5 separate regions of the Homo sapiens genome follow, and regions 1, 3, 4 and 5 are each linked to region 2. The links are contacts of gene promoters, found by promoter capture Hi-C in human tissues and cell types (Jung and others, 2019). All regions are on one chromosome and are shown on one strand. Each heading gives the region's core, a stretch centred on a gene start or on the middle of the fragment in contact. The rest is flanking DNA. Distances are from core to core; before and after follow the strand shown. Region 1 overlaps EPN2 (epsin 2). Region 2 holds the start of SLC47A2 (solute carrier family 47 member 2). Region 3 has its middle 19 kb from the start of LINC02094. Region 4 overlaps EPN2 (epsin 2). Region 5 overlaps B9D1 (B9 domain containing 1).

Region 1 (2,700 bases), core at 100-2,599, 390 kb after region 2:
AGGCCTTCTCCCTCCACCCCTCCAGGCCCACCTTGGCCCACTGGCCACTTGGCCCACTGCATCCACCTGATATCCTTCCATCCCAGAGGCACACAGGGAAGGAAAACAGGTCTGGAGACTGGACTGTGGGTCTGCTGGGCTGGAGCGGTCACCTGGGAGGTGACAACACAGGGCAGAGGCTGGCCCCACTGATGCCCAAAGGTGGTTGTCTGGGAAAAGGAGGCCCTCTGAGGAGTGGAAATTGGCAGGAGGAGGGTGAATGGAAATGCTGGATCAGGCCAGAGGTGAGGCCCACTCTGAGCTGAGGAGGCCGGGGCTGTGGAATCTGCAGGAAGCTTTGGGGATCCTAACCTGGAGACATAGTCCTGGGGGACTCTACCTTGTGATTTTTAACTATTGATGTATGAATTCTTAGAATTAGAAACTTCAGGCTCCCAAGATCAAAATACAAAGAAAATGCAGGAAGCTGAAGGGTTTTGAAAGCTGATTATTATTTCTGCAATAACTCAGCTGGTCAAATGCACGGAGGATTATGGAAACCATCATCACCTGTACATACCTGTTTTTTTTGAAGTCCGAAGGTTGTCAAATTCAGAAAAGTCATCTTTAATTGTACCATTCAGATTACTGAAGAGCTCAAAGGACCCTGGGTGGACACAGAAGCCAATGACTGGGGGCATCTCACAGGACTTCATGGCAACTCCACTGCCCAGTGCACACCCTCAGGATGGGCTGGCAACAGGGGCCTCTCCCCGCTTACCCTACCTCATGGAGGAGAATTCTGAGAGCCAAAGAGGCAAGACAGCCTGGGGTCACCAGCACGCTGGGAGGGGAGACAGGGAGCCTGGCCTCCCAGGACAGGGTGTGGGATGCCCACCTGCTACTGCTTCTAACACCCTCACCCCAAAAGGCAAAGGGGTGCTGGCAGTGGTGGAGGTGCATCAAGCTGGGTCTGGTTGCTTGGATGAGGGTCTGTAGGAAGTCACCAGAAGGAGTGCCTGGAGGCCAGCCTGCCCAGCCCCCCAGGGGTGAGGACAGGACCCACAGGCTGTGGGCCCAGGGCAGTCTTCTCTCTCAACACCCAGGTGGAAGCCCCCTCAATTTGGAGGGAGGTACCAGCGCACAAAGCCTGGGAACTCGCACTCACTCACTCTCACACTGGGGCACCTGGGATCTGGGGATCAGGAACAAAGGCTAAGGGGGAGGAGGGGAGCAAATGCAAGCAAAGCAACAGGGCTGATGCCTAGGAGCCAGGAGCGGCTGCAGGGCCCGTGGGCGCTCAGAGGCCAGGCAGGAAAGTGGGTGAGTGAGGGGCTCACCAGAGACAGACACGGGCTTGGTGGTGGAGACTGCGCCCCACGCGTCAGAAGCTCTTTTCCCAGCACTGGAGGCAGGCTGCTGTGAAGCTGCCCAGGGGTCCGAGTTCTTGGGGACAGATTGTACGGTGGCTCCAGTGGGCACCCCCCATGGGTCAATGGAGGCAGCTGGCTTGGTACCTGTTGGAAGGCAGGGTCAGGGCTCAGAAATGCCTTCAGAGGGTCTGGGCAGCTGGGGTGAGAAGGGAAAAGGATACTGCCAGCCACACCAGGGTCTATGCCCTGTGCCAGGTGAGACAGCCATCAAAAGGGTACTGTCCCACGCCAGCAAAGAGGGACACAGCTGGGGCCCAGGGCCAACAACCCTGGTAAGGAAGCATGCTAGGCCAGGATGTCCCAGGATAACCTCTCCCTGTCCTCTAGTAATGACCAGAGGAAGCAGCTGAAAGAGGTTCTCTCCAAGCTCCCCACCATACAGGGGGCTTGCAAAGGGCTCCTGAGCTCAACCCCACTTCGATGGACTATCTGAAACAAACCTATCTCCCCACAGAATCCAGGCTCCCTCCTCAGACAAGGGGCCCCAGGCAGCCCTCCCACCTCGGCCCAGGCTCTGTAGAGGCACAGAGGCATCCTCTCCCCATGTGCTTTGAGTGGTTTCTGCTTTCTGACAGAAGCATATATAAATGGATGAGTCCTGTATAAAAAGGAATAAAACAAACAGCTACATACTTACCACCCAACTTAAGCAATAAAACACTTTCAAACAGGGAGTGACAAAATCAATTTAGTGGGTCACAACTGGCTTTAAAAAACAGAGAAAAAAATTTTTAAAAAAAGAAAAAACACACACAAAAAAACTAAAACATCTGAGTGCATCTAATGTTAAGTGTCAACGCTGTGATGTGCATCTTTATGTATAGACACAGATTTGTGTATACATGAGTACATATAAAATAAAACCAACATCTCCTTCCTTCTCGCGGAGCACTGCAAGTGTTCAGACACCACTGCCGCCTCTCAGGGACCAGAAAGTGCCTCCCCAATGACATTCCTACCCCAACCATTATGAACTGTTTATTAGCCTTTCTCTTGTTTCTCCTTCTAGTTTATCTTGTAGGGATACCTTTAGTTAGTTGTGCCTATTTTCTGAATACACACACACATATATATTATGTATATGTATGTGTGTCTAAATATGTGTGTGTATTCATTTATTTATCAGATAGGGTCTCACTCTGTCACCCAGACTGGAGTGCAGTGGTGCAATCACAGCTCACTACGCCTCCACCTCCCATGCTCAAGCGATCCTCCCACCGCCGCCTCCCAAGTAGCTGGGACTACAGGAATGTCACCACGCCCGGCTAATTTTTTTTCTAATTTTCGT
Region 2 (2,700 bases), core at 143-2,642:
ATCATCACAATCACGATGGTGATAAAATGTCTTCTTTCCTCTAGGCAGGTGGTAAAGGTACTATTTGGTGCACAGGTTGGAGAGTGCTGTGATAAGAACCATCAGAACAAGGGCAGGAATGTGACCTCCCAGGTGATCCTGGGAGGATCCAGTGGAGCGTTTCAGAATTCTGTGTCAAAAAAGAAGGCTGCGTGTTGACTGGGGTGGGGCTGTGCCTGTGTTTGGGGCCGCCCATGGGTGTAGCAAACCCTTTTTTTTTTTTTGTATTTGTCCTGCCTCCTCTCCTTCAGGGTCTGCTCCTTCCTCCTCGCGGCTCTGGGGGCTGCATCTCGGAATCCTGCCGGCCACTCCTCCGCTGCAGGGGTGGACATGGGAACCAAGTGGGGCCTTTGGGATGTCTTCAGCCCTCCCACAGCCACTGGCCAGCCTGCCTGCTGTCTTCCTGCCCCCCTCGCTCACTCCTCCTTCTCCTGGGCTGAACCACACCCAAAAGCTTGATCCAGGACTGGGCTAGGTGACCGGTGCAATCCTTAGATGCCTCTCTTGGTTCCCACTGCCCTGCTGGTCTTGAGGCAGGTTGAGGGGGGAGTCACAGGCCATCCCTGCAAGGAAAAGCAGAGAGGGCAATTTGGGAAGGTGACAGAGGACCCTGTGGGACGTCGAGTCACAGCCTTGCTGGGCACAGTGACTGGCGTGCATAGTGAGCTGCTTTCCCAAGCACTGCCACCCCTGGCTCTCAGATATGCTGCTGAAAGGGGTGACGGGCAGTGGGGGGCTTGGGACTCCGCCGAGGTGTCCTAGCTCCCATCCCTATCCCCAGGCCCAGGCCCAGGCCCCTCCAGCATGAAAGGCTAGGGACCGCACTGCCATGGGGTTTGCCAGGCCCCTGTCTCTTGGGAAGCCACCCCTCCCAGGGAAAAGCAGGGCTGAGGGCTGTTCAGGCTCTGCCACCACCTGCTCTGTGACTTCGGGCAGGCCACCAATTCTTCTGAAAAACGGGAGTCACTGTGGGCACCATCACGCCCGGGTACAGGACGCCCAGTGGCTCAGCTGCCCCAGCCAGGCTGCCCTGTCCTGGCCTCAGCACACCTCCCACAGCCACTGCAGGCAGCCCTGGACCTTCTCCTGCTGAGGCCTTACTGCCAATCCCTCTGGGAGACCAGACACAACAGGCAGCGGTCTGGGTGACTCCCAGGAACCTGTCCTCCCTAGTGGCTGAGGCAGTAGGCTTGGCAGCAGGGACTCAGTGCCCTAGGAGGCAGGGCTCATCCCACAAGTTGCCATGGTAGCCCCTCCTCCTGCCCCTTACTCATCAGCCAGGCTGTACCGACACGGGCTGCCCAGGCAGGGGGTGGCTCGCTGGACAAAGCTGGCCGTGCAGGCGCTCAGGCGTGCAGGGTAGCCAGTGCCCCGGCCAGGAATGGACAGCCTCCAGGACACAGTGGCCCTGGACCATGGGGGCTGCTGCCCTGCCCTCAGCAGGCTGGTTCCCAGAGGCTTTGGGACTGAGATGTGGACTCTCTTTGCCCTTTCTGGACCCCTGGTAAGGAGGAGGAGCTGGGGGGCAGGTAGGGAGTGGAGGAAGCTGAGAGGCTGAGGGTGTCTGCCTTGCAGGCAGGATCCAGAAATGTGCTCACATTTTCCCCAGAAACTGCCCATGTTGACTGCCAGGTCCAGAGTCTGGGGACAGCAGGATGGCTCCTGAAAGCTGTCTCTGGACAATCCCCAGTGGCAGTGGGGCCTGACTTTGCTCAGCAGCAGGCAGCCCCCACACAGAAGGGGTGGGTGTGCCTCAGCTGGAAACCCACAAAAGCCTGAGTTGGAAGATGGCTCCAGGACAAATGGGACCCAGAGATGCATGAAGCCTGCAGCACCTTCGCAGGGGGAAGAAGGGGCCGGCTACCCATTTCATTTCCAAAGGGGAAATTGTTTTAAATACATTTATTTTTTCTGATCATGAAGAGGAATAGGCTGGGCGTGCTGCCTCACGCCTGTTATCTCAGCACTTTGGGAGGCCGAGCAGGGAGGATCACCTGAGGTCAGGAGTTGGAGACCAGCCCGGCCAACATGGAGAACCCCCCGACTCTACTAAAAATACAAAAATTAACCAGGCATGGTGGCGGGCGCCTGTAATTCCAGCTACTTGGGAGAGAGAGGCAGAGAATCGCTTGAACCCGGGACGGGTAGGTTGCAGTGAGCCGAGATCGCGCCACTGCACTCCAGCCTGGGCAACAAGGGCGAAACTCCGTCTCAAAAAAAAAAAAAAAAACAAAAAAAACAAAACCAAAAAGGAGTAATGGAATTGCACTTCCTGTAAAACTTTTAGAAAAAAATGAAAGATATAAAGAAGAAAGAAATTTAACTCAAATCCTAGTACTTGGAAATAGCCATTACTAAGATTTTGGTGTATTTAATTCCCCTCCTTTTTTGGGGGTGTGCGGCCTGACCAAATTATTGTTATAATAGGAACTGCAATAGCAGTATCAGACACTTGGGTCAAGCTCAGGGCGCCAGGCACTGCGCTGCGCCAGGCACTGACCCTTCTGGGTAGGGACGTGGAGGCCAGGCGTGACTGCAGCTGCAGAACGCAGAATGGGAGCTGGGCTAGGTCATCCGACCTCCAGCCCTGGCTTCCCCAGGCGTAGGTGACCTCTCGGGGCACTGGTGCGGGGCCCTCAAAGCTGGAGAGGCCTGTCTTGC
Region 3 (2,700 bases), core at 29-2,528, 280 kb after region 2:
ACCTACAAAGGAGTTCAATACTTAACTTAGTAAAGAATTTCTCAAGGATTTCAGGACTCTCCTACTCTTTTCTCTAGCAATTTACAGGAAATATTAGGGAAATTTGTCCCACCAGAGAAATTTATAATTATCCTGTCAACGAAAAGAGTCAAACTCTGTAAAATATTTGAAGAGATTTATTCTGAGCCAAACATGAGGACCAATGACATGTGACATAGCCCTAGGAGATCCTAAGAACATGCACCCAAGGTGATTGGGCCATAACTTGGTTTCATACATTCTAGGGAGACAAGACAACAATCAATACATGTAAGATGGCTGGGCATGGTGGCTCACACCTGTAATCCCAGCATTTTGGGAGGCCGAGGCGGGTGGATCAAAAGGTCAGGAGTTCAAGACCAGCTTGAACAACATGGTGAAACCTCATCTCTACTAAAAATACAAAAATTATCCAGGTGTGGTGGCGTGCACCTGTAATCCCAGCTATTAAGGAGGCTGAGGCAGGAGAATTGCTTGAACCCAGGAAGCAGAGGTTATGGTAAGCCGAGATCACGCCACTGCACTCCAGCCTGGGTGACAGAGCAAGACTCTGTCTCAAAATAATAATAATACATGTAAGATATACATTGGTTTGGTGCCGAAAGGTGAGACAACTCAAAGAGGGGGCTTCCAGGTCATAGGTGAATTCAGAGATTTTCTAATTGGCAACTGGTTGAAAGAGTTATTATCTAAAGACCTGGAATCCATAGAAGAGAATATCTGGGTTAAGATAAGGGGTTTGGGAAATCAAGGTTCTTATTATGCAGATGATGCCTTCAGGTAGCAGACTTCAGAGAGAATAGATTGTACATGTTTTTTTATCAGACTTAGAAAGGTGCCAGACTCTTAGTTAATTCTCTCCTGCATCAGGAAAAATACCTGGAAAGGGAAGGGGATTCTCTACTGAATGTAGATTTTCTCCACAAGATAAAGCTGTGCAGGGCCATTTCAAAATATGTCAAAGAAATATATTTTGGGGTAAAATATTTCTATTTCTTTTGGGGCCTGCTATCTGTCATGTTGGTATCTTATTGCTGCAAAGGGTCTATTTAAATCCAAAAATTAGTCAAGCATGGTGGCATGCACCTGTAATCCCAGCTACTCAGGAGGCTGAGGTGGGAGAATCACTTGAACCTGGGAGGCAGATGGAGGTTGCAGTGAGCCAAGATTGTGCCACTGCACTCCAGCCTCGGGGACAGAGTGAGACTCTGTCTCAAAAAAAGAAAAAATGAGTCTATTTCATCAGTGTTAAGGTCTCTTGTTTTAATATTAATGGTGGTCAGTTGTGCCTGAGTTCCAAGGGAGGAAGGTATAATGAGGCATATCAAACCACCCATTCCCATCATGGCCAGAAGTAGTGTTTCAGTTTATTTTGGAATCCCCTTGGCCAAGAAGAGGGGTCCATTCAGTTGGTTAAGGGGCTTAGAATTTTATTTTTGGTTTACAATCCAATATGTAGATGATTTGCTGATAGCCTAAGAAACTAAAGAGCAATGCCAAACTGATACTTTTGGCTTTGTTAGAATTCCTCACTTCAGAGAGGCTTAAGGCCTTACTAGACAAATTGTAATATTGCCAAACTGAGGTAAAATATTTAGGACATTTGTCACTGAAGAACACAAAAGTGTTATAATCTAGGAGTTAGCTAATTTTTCACATGAAATGGTCTACAACAGGAAAAATAACTTAAAGACAATTTTAGAGATGGGTAGGATATTTTCCACAGTGGACTCCAAGGTCAAACGACAAAACTACAACAAATTTAAAGATCTCAATTTACTTTATTATGAGCCTAGAATTGGGCAACACTCCATTCCAGAAAACAGAATAAGTGTTCCCACGAGCTGAGCAGAAGGGGTTGGCTTTACAGACAGAAGGGATGAAGAAAGCAGAAGCAAAGAACAAAGAGCATATCCCTGGTTTCAAAGCTACTTTTCTGGTAAGGTGGGCACAGGAAGACAGAACAATAGAGAATAACTGACTAGGTTATTCTCAGGTTGCTTCAGGCTGCTGCTTTTGTGTGAGGATTAAAGCAGAGAGAATTCATTATCATGCTGCTTAAAAATGGAAACTGGCCTGTTTGGGAAATCTCTCTCCTGTCAGATAACAACTTAGTTTTGGTTTTGTAACCTGGAACTTTAGCATAGGTGACTCTATTTTGATTTTTAGTCTGGTCCTCTGGGGTCTAGTGCAGGAGCTTCATCCAAAACAATGATCTCCCATAATTTTACTTTACTTAACACCAGCTTTTACAGGGCAGGCAAAAACCTCTGATGGAGCATTACATGACAATATTCCAGAATCTCTGACTTAATCCTTAGAACCTGAAAAGGCTTTTTTGTTTTGTTTTGTTTTTGAGACAGAATCTTGCTCTGTGGCCCAGGCTGGAGTGCAATGGCATGATCTCGGCTCACTGCAACCTCCTCCTCCTGGGTTCAAGTGGTTCTCATGTCTCAGCCATCTAAATAGCTGGGACTATGGGCACAGGCCACCACAGTTGGCTCATTTTTATATTTTGTAGAGACGGGGTTTCACCATGTTGACCAGAGTGGTCTCAAACTCCTGGTCTCAAATGATCCGCCCACCTCGGCCTCCCAAAGTGCTGGGATTACAGGCATGAGCCACCGTGCCTAGCCTGAAGAGCCTTTTGAACAACTGAAA
Region 4 (2,700 bases), core at 56-2,555, 420 kb after region 2:
TTCATGCCCTCACTGTACTTGGAGAAGCAGGTCGCAGAGTGGACTTGCGGGAGGAGCTCTGGTTATCCCACTGCAAGCTGGACTAAGCTGGACTAAGCTTTCCATTAGCAGTCAGCAGGAGGAGACTAATTTGATGTGTAATATCAATTTCCAAGCTGCTCCAAGTTGGAGTGTTGCCTAGCTGCCTGTAACTCTGTAAAAAGACACTGCTACGGGCCATGAGTTGAGGGGAGAGGGGAGGAAGAGCCCTTCAACTGATTAAAGCCTGACAGGGAACCAGCAGCCCCCAGCACACTGCTGTCAGTGCCACCGCGGCACCTGGGGCCCTCCCAGAGATTCTAATTTGAGAGGTGTGGGAGAGGTGTGGCCCAGGATTTGGGACATTTTGGGAGATTTAAAAGCTTGAGAGCTAGTGATTTAGGGAAAAAAGGCAACTGTCAAAATGAGGAACTGCCTTGTATCACTAAACAAAAACAACAACTATGAATCATACTGTTGCTAAACTCAACCTTAAAGCATCGAGAAACCACACAAATATATAAGGCATTCCTATATTTCTGGAATTGACTTCAAATGTATTTTTTCTTTTCTTTTCTTTTTTTTCTGAGAGGGAGTTTCACTCTTGTCACCCAGGCTGGAGTCTAATGGCACGATCTCGGCTCACTGCAACCTCCACTTCCTGGGTTAAAGTGATTCTCCTGCCTCAGCCTCCCAGGTAGCTGGGACTACAGGCATGCACCACTACACCTGGCTATTTTGCGCGCACGCGCGTGTGTGTGTGTGTGTGTGTGTGTGTATTTTTAATAGAGATGGGGTTTCACTGCGTTGGCAAGGCTAGTCTCGAACTCCTGCCCTCAGGTGAGGAGAGAGGAGAAGAGAGGCTTATTTAGCACTCATGCATGAAGTATGTTCTGAGCACCTTTCCTGGTTCAGGTGTTGTGCTAAAGACACTAGGGATACAGCACGGGGCATGAACGGGGCTCCTGCTCTAACAGCTTGTTTTAGTGCAGGGAGACAAAACAAAGCAAATAAGAGAATTTCAGGTAGTGAAAAAGACTCTGAAGATAGTAAAAAAGGATATGATACAGAGAGAGATTTAACTTATATGGCCTACTTCCCATGGGAAGACAAATCTATCTGCATGCCTTCCCTCCTGTTTCTAGTCATATAATTTTTTTTTAATGCCTCCTGGAAGTTGTCTATTTGAAACTAGCAACTGCTGTACTGAGCATCCATGAATAAAGACACCGTCAGCAGCTGTGACTATGCTAGCCAATCTGACTTAAAACATCTGACAGGGAACCAGCAGCCCCCAGTACAATGCTGTCAGTGCCACCGCAGTACCTGGGGCCCTCCCAGAGATTCTCATTTGAGAAGTGTGGCAAAGGTGTGGCCCAGGATTTGGGACATTTTGGGAGATTTAAAAGCTTGAGAGCTAGTGATTTAGGGAAAAAAGAAAAGGCAACTGTCAAAATGAGGAACTGCCTTGTATCACTAAACAAAAACTAACAACTATGTATCATACTGTTGCTAAACTCAACCTTAAAGCATCGAGAAACCTTCTACACTTATTGACAGTTTATAAACAATAGTTTGTTTACCTATACTACAAAGGATCCTTAAAAAACAGGTAAATATTGTATTGATCCATTTTCTATGGCACACGCCAATGTCAATCATTTAATCAATAACCCAATCCCCAATATTTTTTTTCTTTTGAGAAAGGGTCTCGCTTTGTCACCCAGGCTAGAATGCAGTGGCACAATCTTGGTTCACTGCAGCCTGGACTTCCTGAGCTCAGGCGATTCCTCCCACCTCAGCCCCACAAAGTAGCTGGGACTACAGGTGCACACCACCATGCCTGGTTAATTTTTTTTTTTTTTGTAGCGATGGGGTTTTGTTGTGTTGTCCAGGCTGGTCTCAAACTCCTAAGCTCAAGCAATTCACCTGCTTCAGCCTCTCGAAGTGCTAGGATTACAGGCATGGGCCACTGCAGCCGGCCTCCCAATCAGCAATTTTGATAGCACTGTTTCTTTTTTTTTTTTTTAAAGACAGAGTCTTGCTCTGTTGCCCAGGCTGGAGTACAGTGGTGCGATCTCAGCTCACTGCAACCTCTGCCTCCCAAGCTTCAAGCAATCTCCTGCCTCAGCTTCCTGGGTAGCTGGGATTACAAGCATCCACCACCACACCCGACTAATTTTTTGTATTTTTGGTAGAGACAGGGGTTTCACCATGTTGGTCAGGCTGGTCTCAAACTCCTGACCTCAAGTGATCCACCAGCCTCGGCCTCCCAAAGTGCTGGGATTATAGGCATGAGCCACCGCGCCCAGCCTTGATAGCACTGTTTCAATTCTGAGAACAATCCCATATTCTGACAATCAGAGGAGCTCCTTAAGATCTGGGGCCCAATTAAATAATGGTTTAATTAGGTATTCCTGGCTGAGTGTGGTGGCTTGTGCCTGCATGCCTGTAATCTCAACACTTTGAGAGGCCGAGGCCAGAGGATAGCTTGAGCCCAGGAGTTCCAGATCAGCCTGGGCAACGTGGCAAAACCCCACCTCTACAAAATACAGAAAGTAAAAAAAAAAAAAAAAAAAAAAAAAGCTGGGTATGGTGGCATGCACCTGTAGTCTCAGCAACCCAGGAGGTTAAGGTGAGAGCATCACTTGAGCCCAGGGAGGTAGAGGCTGCAGTGAGCCA
Region 5 (2,700 bases), core at 125-2,624, 360 kb after region 2:
TTGGCCTCTCCTCAGCCAGTGGGGAGGACCTGGAGTAAAAAGACAGAGTAGGAGCTCTCCTTCCAGGACTTCCCAAGGGGTAGCTTGCCTCCACCAGGTGAGGGACTGTGGTGACAACTTCAGCCCGCTCTGTGCTCTGCTGTTTGCAAAGCACTTGTTTCATCTTCATAGCAGTTTAAGAAAAGGAGACTGAACTTATTTAAGCTCTCTGAGCCTCAGTTTCCTCATTTGTACAACTGAGATGATAATCCTTCTTTTCCCTTTATTGATTGTCTTCTGGGTGCTGGGGATGCAGGGGTGAGCAAAGCCAAACCAGAAGACCCTGCCTTCCCGGAGCGCACGTTCTTGCTGGGGGGTCAGATAATAAGGAGTGCATATTCTAGGATGTTAGTAAGCCAGAAGTGTGAGGGGAGACCAAGCCAGGAAGTGACAGGGATGAGTGATGAGAAGGAGGCTGCGATCTCGCTAAGGCTGCCAGGGAGGGCCTTGCCGAGAAAGTAACTTTTGAGGAAAGACCTGAAGGAAGTGAGGGAACAAGCCATGTGGAAACCCGTGAGAACTGTCCAGGCAGAAACAGCAGAGAGTGCAAAGGCCCTGGAGCAGGAGCTTGCCTGGCATGTTTGAGGACCAGCAAGGAGGCTGTGTGGCCACTGGAGAGCGAGCCAGCAGGAGAGTGGCTGGAGCAGAGAGGCACCTGGGCAGGTCTTGTCAGAGTAAGGACTGTGACCTTTACTCAAAGGGAGATGGGATCCCACTGGAGAACTTTCAGCAGAGAAAGTGATCTGACTTATGTTTTTAGAAGATTCCCTGGCTTCTACGACAAGGATAGACTCGGGGGGAAAGGGCAAGAGCAGGCAGCCCAGTTGGCTCTGACAGCAGTGGAGATGGGAGAGGAGGGCAGTGGCAGTGGGGTGGTGGGAGGGGCTGGACTGCAAGTATATTCTGAAGATAGAGCCGCTGGGTTCTTTTGATGGATGTGAGGTCTGAGAGAAGGAGGAGTTAGGATTCACAGCAGGGCTTTTAGCCTGAGCACTTAGAAGTAGGCAGCTGCCTTTCAGTGAGAAGAACAGATTGGGGAGAGCTACCTGGAGCTCAGCCTGGTGTGGGTTAAGGTTGAGGCACCCACTGGATATCCAAGAGGAGGTGCTGATCCAGAGTGCAGAGGCAAGGACCAGGCTGGAGACATAAATTTGGGAATCATCGACATCTAGAGCACATTGAAAGCCATGAGATGGATGAGATCACCAAGTACAGGTAGAGGAGCTGGCCAAAGATGCAGCCTTAGGACGGCAACACTGAGAAGGAACCAGCAAGAGCCACTGAGCAGGGGCCACCCTGTGCAGTGGAGAGACCCAGAAGCCAAGGGAAGACAGTGTATCAAGGAGTAAGCAGCTGCATCAGGTGCTGCTGATGGGTCAAGTAACACGAGGATAGAGAAATGACCATTGGATCTAGCAATGTTGGTCACGGGCATTAATGGAGAAAACCCTTTGGTAGAGTGCTGGAGCCAGCAGTCACATTGGAGTGGGGTCACAAAAGAATAGCAGGGGAGGAATTGGAGCCGGTGAGTGTGGCAGCTCTTTGAGGCAGTTTTGCTATAAAGGGAGCAGAGAAAGGGTTGGTGGGTGGAAGAAGCCGCAGAGTTGAAAGAGGACTATTTTTGATGGAGAAAACACATTTACGTATTTACCGATGGGGATACTCAGGTGAGGATGGGGATACTCAGGTGAGGGTGGGGATGCAGGAGAGTGTAAGCATGCTGGACCATTCCTTCAGTGGGGCAAGAGCTTGGGACCAGATCTAGTGCCCTTGTGCCCGGGAGAGTGGCTGGCCTCCCAGGGTTGTCAAGCTACGGCGTTAAAGTACCAGACTTAAAGAGGTACTCCATCATCTCTTAGTCCCCTTTGTTTGGAAGTTCGTGTCTTGGGAGAAGACAGCTGAGAAAACAGCCCTCCCAACTGCCTGCTGAAGGTAAGGGGAGGAGCCGCAGCAGCTTGGCTCTGCTCTGAATCCAGCCGTCTGTGTCACTGTCCTCACAGGGTCTGGAGGAGGGGATCTCACAGATCACATCCAAGAGCCAAGATGTGCGGCAAGCACTGGTGTGGAACTTCCCCATTGATGTCACCTTTAAAAGCACCAACCCCTACGGCTGTGAGTCTGCAGGGGCCCTGTGGGGTAGGGTGGCAGAGCTTTCACACAGCACCCCCAAGACAGCCTCTGCCTCATCCAGCCCATGACTGTTCACATTCAGATTGTCACCTGGGCTCTTGAAGCAGCCCTCAACGTTCTCTCTCGCCATCTGTCCCTTTCCCTCCTCTTCTTCCTCATCCCCACTCACCCCCTTCATCTGCTACAGGCTGTGCAGCTGGCCTTCTGGAAGTTCAGAGTGCATCAGGGCTAGTGGCCACGCCTGTAAAAGGCAGGCTCCCCACCCTGGCATGCAGGACTGTGGCTGTTTGGCCTGGAGGCCTGACTCTGTGCCTGCTGACTTCCCATGGCGTGTTGTGTTCCGGCTAGACCCTGGCACTTTCTCCTCCTGTGCTAGTCCCTCAACTTTCTTCATCTGAGCTTTATTCATGCCGATCCATCTGTCTGGATACCATTCCCACGTCCTATGTCTAACCTCTTTCCCAAGGGCTTCCTGGCTGGCATTGCTTACTTTCTACCTTGGCTGGTGGTTATTAACCATTCTGATTGTTC

What was found. Contacts are between HindIII fragments. The study calls those that stand out against the background at their distance.
Region 1: a contact is called between a fragment that was not itself captured here and the fragment with the promoter of SLC47A2 in region 2, in 2 of the 25 tissues and cell types used here (dorsolateral prefrontal cortex and mesendoderm cells).
Region 3: a fragment that was not itself captured here is called in contact with the fragment with the promoter of SLC47A2 in region 2 in 2 of the 25 tissues and cell types used here (dorsolateral prefrontal cortex and spleen).
Region 4: a fragment that was not itself captured here is called in contact with the fragment with the promoter of SLC47A2 in region 2 in 1 of the 25 tissues and cell types used here (dorsolateral prefrontal cortex).
Region 5: a contact is called between a fragment that was not itself captured here and the fragment with the promoter of SLC47A2 in region 2, in 1 of the 25 tissues and cell types used here (mesendoderm cells).

Annotation. Positions count from the first base shown.
Region 1 is chr17:19,327,507-19,330,206 of GRCh38, reverse strand. It overlaps EPN2 (epsin 2), which reads right to left. Exons shown (of 11, transcript NM_014964.5): 8 at 1,320-1,496; 9 at 560-646. Among named protein-coding and RNA genes, the nearest start is that of MIR1180, 16 kb to the left of the region's middle. RefSeq lists a silencer at 9-203. The HindIII fragment of the contact is 3,792 bases long and covers 1-2,700 here.
Region 2 is chr17:19,715,276-19,717,975 of GRCh38, reverse strand. It overlaps SLC47A2 (solute carrier family 47 member 2), which reads left to right and starts at 1,392. Exons shown (of 17, transcript NM_001099646.3): 1 at 1,392-1,543. The coding sequence starts at 1,421. LOC124903948 (a long non-coding RNA gene) reads right to left here. Exons shown (of 2, transcript XR_007065659.1): 2 at 1-602. RefSeq lists enhancers at 217-1,064, 1,065-1,914. The HindIII fragment of the contact is 9,747 bases long and covers 1-2,700 here.
Region 3 is chr17:19,436,118-19,438,817 of GRCh38, reverse strand. No RefSeq gene overlaps it. Among named protein-coding and RNA genes, the nearest start is that of LINC02094, 19 kb to the right of the region's middle. The HindIII fragment of the contact is 8,888 bases long and covers 1-2,700 here.
Region 4 is chr17:19,293,438-19,296,137 of GRCh38, reverse strand. The region is part of intron 4 of EPN2 (epsin 2); the gene reads right to left. Among named protein-coding and RNA genes, the nearest start is that of EPN2-AS1, 11 kb to the left of the region's middle. The HindIII fragment of the contact is 3,874 bases long and covers 1-2,700 here.
Region 5 is chr17:19,357,291-19,359,990 of GRCh38, reverse strand. It overlaps B9D1 (B9 domain containing 1), which reads left to right. Exons shown (of 7, transcript NM_015681.6): 3 at 2,040-2,151. Among named protein-coding and RNA genes, the nearest start is that of B9D1, 4.1 kb to the left of the region's middle. RefSeq lists an enhancer at 1,790-2,289. The HindIII fragment of the contact is 5,514 bases long and covers 1-2,700 here.